Regions from separate parts of the Homo sapiens genome. Here region 2 is linked to region 1. Evidence: promoter capture Hi-C in 16 types of primary human blood cells and fetal thymus (Javierre and others, 2016). All regions are on one chromosome and are shown on one strand. Each heading gives the region's core, a stretch centred on a gene start or on the middle of the fragment in contact. The rest is flanking DNA. Distances are from core to core; before and after follow the strand shown.

The links. The method cuts DNA at HindIII sites, captures the fragments that hold promoters and counts their contacts. A CHiCAGO score of 5 or more calls a contact.
Region 2: a fragment that was not itself captured here is called in contact with the fragment with the promoter of IGF2BP2 in region 1 in 2 of 17 cell types (megakaryocytes and endothelial precursors); the score reaches 7.7 in megakaryocytes.

Annotation. Positions count from the first base shown.
Region 1 is chr3:185,823,454-185,826,384 of GRCh38, reverse strand. IGF2BP2 (insulin like growth factor 2 mRNA binding protein 2) reads left to right here and starts at 1,343. Exons shown (of 16, transcript NM_006548.6): 1 at 1,343-1,602. The coding sequence starts at 1,425. RefSeq lists silencers at 526-615, 1,026-1,295, 1,307-1,537 and an enhancer at 2,477-2,931. The HindIII fragment of the contact is 1,788 bases long and covers 1-1,438 here.
Region 2 is chr3:185,732,715-185,735,814 of GRCh38, reverse strand. All of the region lies in intron 2 of IGF2BP2 (insulin like growth factor 2 mRNA binding protein 2), which reads left to right. Among named protein-coding and RNA genes, the nearest start is that of IGF2BP2-AS1, 21 kb to the right of the region's middle. RefSeq lists a silencer at 1,761-1,810. The HindIII fragment of the contact is 2,367 bases long and covers 172-2,538 here.

The DNA of each region.
Region 1 (2,931 bases), core at 94-2,593:
TGCTCTCATCCCAACCCTGCCTCTTCCGTCGGTCACGTTGTTTCCTCCGCTTGGAAGGACCTCTTTCCTCTCCGGGCCCTTCCCAGTGCTCGGGGAACTCCTACACAGCCTGCGCTCCTCCGCTTCCAGCCACCCTCGCCTCCCACCACCCTGGCTTTGGAGCTGAACCGGCCGCGCAGCCGGGCGGCGACCATCCGTCCCCCGGCCGCTGACCCCAGCGCTCCGGCCTCGCCGCAGTCCCTGGCCCCTCGGCGTTCGTTTCCCCACCCGCCACCTGGCTTTCGCCGCCGCCGCCCGGGAAGCCCTCGGCACTTCCCAGAATAGAGAGCAGCTGCCAACGTCAGGCTGCCGCCTGCCGCGGGGTTCCGGACACGCGGGGTCTGGGCGGAGAGGACGTGACTCCGCGCTGGCCTTCCGCCTTCCCTCCCCGGTCGGGAAACTGAGGCCCGGGACCGGGAACCACTTCCCCGCGAGCACGGTCCGCGAGGGCCCGGCCAACCCCGGTCCTAGGCGTCCCGACTCCCGCGCGCGATCCTTCGACCACACGCGCCGCTCGGTCACCTCAGAGAGCGTGGCGGGGAGCGGGTCTCAGAGCGAGCGCACGGCCCGGGAACGCGCAGGGCGCCAGCCCCGGCCAAGTCGCTGCGAAAGTTGTTGTCTCCCAGCCTGCCCTCGCCTCTCACCTCCGGGACACACCTTCCCGCTTGCCCTGGCAGCAGCGCACTCACATCCGGTCCACCTTGCGCACACCCCTCTCCGCGCTCACTCGCAGCCCCTCTCCCTCCCACGCCCGCGGCTCCCCGTCGCCCCCTCGCGCGCTCCCACCCGCGCCCGGGGCGCGCCTTCCCCGCCCCGCCGCTCGCCCGGCCTCGGCGCCGCGCCCGCCCGGGGTTCCGGCGCCCGGAGCCCCAGCCCGGGGCCGCGACCCGCTTCCGCCCGCCTGGCGCGGGGCCGGAGCCCGAGCAGCCACTGCCGAGCGCGGTGGGCGCGAGGCGAGGGGCGCAGCGGCGCGGGGCGGGGAGGGGGCGCTCGCTCGCTCCCTCTCGGCTGCGCACACGCCCGTACAAACTCTCACACAGACACACGCGGGGTGCGCTGCCGCCGCCCGCCGCTGCTCCTCCTCCCGCCACCGCCTTGAGAGGGAGAGAGAGGGAGGCAGAGAGAGCGCTTTGTCCGCGCGCCGCCGCCCGGCCCGGGACTCTGCCCCGAGGAGGCAGCCGCGCCGAGTCCCCGCCTCCGCCTCTGCCCCCGGGCGGGCCGGGCCGGCCGCGGTGGGGGGAGCCAGGCTGAGGGTGGGGGTGGGTGGCGGGCGGGCGGAGGGCGGGGAGGGGGGGCGGAGGAGGAGGAGAGACGAGGGCAGCGGAGGAGGCGAGGAGCGCCGGGTACCGGGCCGGGGGAGCCGCGGGCTCTCGGGGAAGAGACGGATGATGAACAAGCTTTACATCGGGAACCTGAGCCCCGCCGTCACCGCCGACGACCTCCGGCAGCTCTTTGGGGACAGGAAGCTGCCCCTGGCGGGACAGGTCCTGCTGAAGTCCGGCTACGCCTTCGTGGACTACCCCGACCAGAACTGGGCCATCCGCGCCATCGAGACCCTCTCGGGTGAGCACTCAGCGCGGCCCCCTCCCCCCGCCTCGCCCCGCTCAGGCCGGGACGGCGCCGGGAGGGAGGCCGAGTCCGGCGGGCGGCGCCCGGCGGCGGCTCCCGCGCCCGCACGCTCACTTCCACGCACCAGACCCTCAACTCTCGCCGCCGGCCCGCTCCTGGGACGGCCCGCTCCCCTCCCCCCACAGCTCTGGACTCTGCCCTCGCCCTCGGGGCCGCAGCCTTGGGGCGCCCCCCGTGCCGCTCCGAAGGCTCCCGAGGCTCGCCGGCTCCTTAGGGGCACCCCTCGTTCGCCTGGCGCCCCGGGCTGCTCTGAGCTTCCCCGCCCCCCACCCTTTGAGCGTCCCCTGTCTCACTTCTCCCCTGACCTTCCTGTCACCCCCTTTGTCAGGGTCCCCCCTTCCCCAAATCCAGCGTCTCTTCCTCCTCCCCCGGCCGGACCTTCTCTCTTCCAGTGCCTCGTGCCCAGAACCTCTCGCCCTCTGGCGTCTCCTGAGCCGCACTCTCCTTTCGAGCCCCCTCCCCACCTCGCCCCACGGCCCCCCACTTTTGGCACCCCCTCGGCGCCACCCTGGTGACCCCCTTCGAGATCTCGGGGCTCCCCCAGCCCCAGCCCTCGCACGACGGCACATCCCCTCGGTCCTTTCCCGAACCTCAGTCCCCTCTCGCTTGCTCTCTCAAGCGCTCCTATTTTTCTCTGAATTTTTTGTCCGATTTTATTGAGAAGAACTCGGGGCTGGGGGCTTTCCGCCGCCCGTCCCCCCGCCTCCCGCTCGGCCAGAAGCACCTTTTTACGAGGTGCCCTGTCTCAACTCGGTGGGGGCCAGGGTTGAGAACCGGGAAAGAGGCGACCGGGGGGCCCGCGAGCGCGCTGGAGCCCAGACAGGAGACGGAGAGCGACACACACACACACTCGCGCGCGCGCACTCCCCAACTCTCCCCAGCACACGCTCCGCTCCCAGCCGCGCGGGCCCCCGGGCCCCGGCCGGCGCCCCCCGAACCCCGGCCCGGCGGGAGCCCCTTCCCCACCGGCGTGTGGAGTGGGGGCGGGGCGGCGGCGAGGCCAAGGTGACACCCAGGAGCGGGCAGGGACAGGGCTGTCGCTGCGGCGGACTCCGGGGGGCTTCGGCTCGTTTTCTCGGGGCCACCGGGAGGAGAGGGCAGGGAGGGGAGCCCGGTGGAGCCTTCGGGCCCCGGATTAGCGGAATGGAGAGGTGGGGGCCGGGAGAGCAGCGGGGCCGCGCCAGCCCTGCAGCTTGAGTTTCAAATGAGCTCATCCTTTCAAATTGGCGCCGCTCTTTATTAAATTTGTTTTTCCGGTAATGC
Region 2 (3,100 bases), core at 106-2,605, 91 kb after region 1:
TAAGGATATGAATTAAGATCATGGTGATGGAAATGAAAAGGTATATTTTTAGAAATATTTAAGAGTTATGGATGTGGGATTAGGAGATGCTATTTAGTGGCAGAGCTGTAAGTACAGCCTGGGTCTTCAGGTTCCTGGGGTAAGGAGCCTTCCCCTCTGCTGTGTAAAGCTTATTATCTCCTCCCGGAGGAACTCTGTAATTTAGCTCTTTTTTCTTGACCAAGGACTTGGCATGAGACTGACCATCGATAATGCCAAACACTGTCATAAAAGCAAAGATATGAGAGCTTTGTTCTTAGCTATTTATATTTATGCTGTAAATCCTTTAAGATAGACATAATTGCTGTGCACATAGATTAAGGGATGTAAGGCCAGGCACAGTGGCTCATGCCTGTAATCCCAGCACTTTGGGAGGCCGAGGCAGGTGGATCACCTGAAGTCAGGAGTTCAAGACCAGCCTGGCCAACACAGCGAAACCCCATCTCTACTAAAAATACAAAAATTAGCCTGGTGTGGTGGCTAATGCCTGTAGTCCCAGCTACTCGGGAGGCTGAGGGACGAGAATCACTTGAACCCGGAAGGCGGAGGTTGCAGTGAGCTGAGTTCATGCCGCTGCACTCCAGCCTGGGCGACAGAGCGAGACTTGGTCTCAAAAAAAAAAAAAAAAGGATTTAAATGTATTTTCAAGCATTGATATTGTCATAAAATGTAATTCACTGATAAAATGCACATAAAATTAATATATTTTCTTTAGTCTGTAACATTAATAATCTCATCTGCCTTTTAGAGTAAGGACTGCCTTTTGTAGCTTGAGCACTTATGTGTGCTTTCATGTTACAACGCTGTCTTCGCTATTACAGTGTGAGGGAGCTGCTGCTCTTATCTCCACTCTGCAGAGGGGAGATTGAGGCACGTCGGAGTTGAGTAATTGGCCAAGGTCAAATGGTAAGTGGGAAAACCTGGATTTGAACCCAGGCAGCCTGGCATCCAACTCCAAAATCCTTGACCTCTATACTCTAGTGTTTCTGACAGGAGGAGGGTTTTGGAGTTAGGTTTTAGCCTGAGTCTCATAAGATCTGTCCAAAGAAAGTTGAGCTTACAATTAATTTCCCTGCTGTAAGCAGGAAAATTAAAATTATTTTTTTCCACGTTACTGCTGCCTTAAATACTGTAGACAAGTTTCAGCGTACTTCTCACTTCATTGGAAACCTATAAAGATAATTGCCAGGTGCTAACACACACTTGTTAAAAACCAGCTTTCACTCGTTTTTAACAATGCAAAAGTGAGCAGTTTCTCATCTGCCCAGTGTATGATTCTTTGCTCAGAAGAAGTAGAATGGATGAACAGAGACGCTGAACGATTGTGGAATTTTTGATTATGCTTTAATAGGGAGGTAAGGAAAATGTATACAGGATTTGGGAACTAGACAACGTGAGTTTGCATTTGGGCTCTAGCATTATGATCTCTCTGACCTTGGGCAAGTCACTTCACCTCTGAGTGTGTTTCCTCTTCTATAAAATGGGGTTGATAAGTTGCCCAACCCGCCCTCACAGAGCTGTTGTTGGAATTGAATGAGATAAAGTATGTGAACACGTTTCACCTATGTAACTATGTGCAGATGCTCATTACTGCCATGGCTAGGGAGAGAGGTGCCGGAGCAGAGGTGAGCAGCTGCCTAGAGGAACTTGAGCAGGTTTCCCTGGGTTACTGTATTCCTAAGGAAATGTGCACCCTCTTGTGGCGAAGTAAGGGGGTTAAGGGTTCTTGTGAAAAATACTTCAGTGTTGTTACTGTGGGATTTTTTTGGTCACCAGAAATACTTTCCCAGTAATGAATGTACACACTCTTTCTAAACAAATCCTTAAATTGCAAGGTGAGTGAATTATTTAGTCCTTACCCAGTTTTTAATTTTTCTTCATGTCTTTCCTGTTCCATTCATAGAGAGACTTGCTAAACTTTTCATTTTCCTAAACTACTGTTTGTTTGTTTTTAATGTGCTTGTTGCATTTACTTTATTTTTGGCTCTAATTTATTTATTTATTATTATTATTATTATTGAGGCGGAGTTTCGCTCTTGTTGCCCAGGCTGGAGTGCAATGGTGCAATCTTGGCTCACCACAACCTCCGCCTCCCGGGTTCAAGCGATTCTCCTTCCTCACCCTCCTGAGTAGCTGGGATTACAGGCATGCGCCACCACACCCAGCTAGTTTTGTATTTTTAGTAGACATGGGGTTTCTCCATGTTGGTCAGGCTGGTCTCGAACTCCCGACCTCAGGTGATCCGCCTGCCTCGGCCTCCCAAAGTGTTGGGATTACAGGCGTGAGCCACCGCGCCCAGTCTGGCTCTGATTTATTATCTGTTAAATTTTAAACACATAGGGCTTTCTTTGTCTGCCTTTGCTAACATAGGACTTCTGGTGCTTAGCATCTAGTAAATGCTCAGTAAATGATGATGAGTGGGTACTGACAGTCTTAACCATTCCTCAGTTTCCTTCTCCCTTTGACTGTGGAGCACCCTCTTTTCCTTGGGATCAAGCTTCCTGAAATATACGGAAATGGATTGAGAAAATATGGCTTATCAATCACTTTACATTTTCTCAGGTTCCTCTTTAGTAAAATAAGAATGAGAATAGATGATTTCCAAGATTCTTACTTTGTAGGGACAAGGGAATCAGATGATTGTGTTCTTTGGCAGAGCCTAGTCTGTGAAATGTCTTATGACTATCAGCTTTATTGTATCCTCCCCTAGTTCCTAGATGAATAGGGTGGGGAAGCAGGAGAATGCAGTATAGTGGAAGGAAGGGAAGTGGGGTGATGAACAACAGGATAAGAGAACATTGTGGTGGGCAGGTTGGGGGAGGGATTAACAGGACAGTAGCAACATTCCAGAAAGAAGCTGTAACATCCTGAGGTATGTGAACATTTTTCAAAACGTATACACATGGTATTATCTGTGAGGCCTACAGGGGATTATCTAACTCAACATCCTTTATTCCCACACATTGCTTACATTAAATTTGGGGAAAAAATATTTTCTCTAATTGAGTTATGAAGTCCTTGGTCATGTAGCAGTTCAAGCTACAGCAGTGACTTTATAATT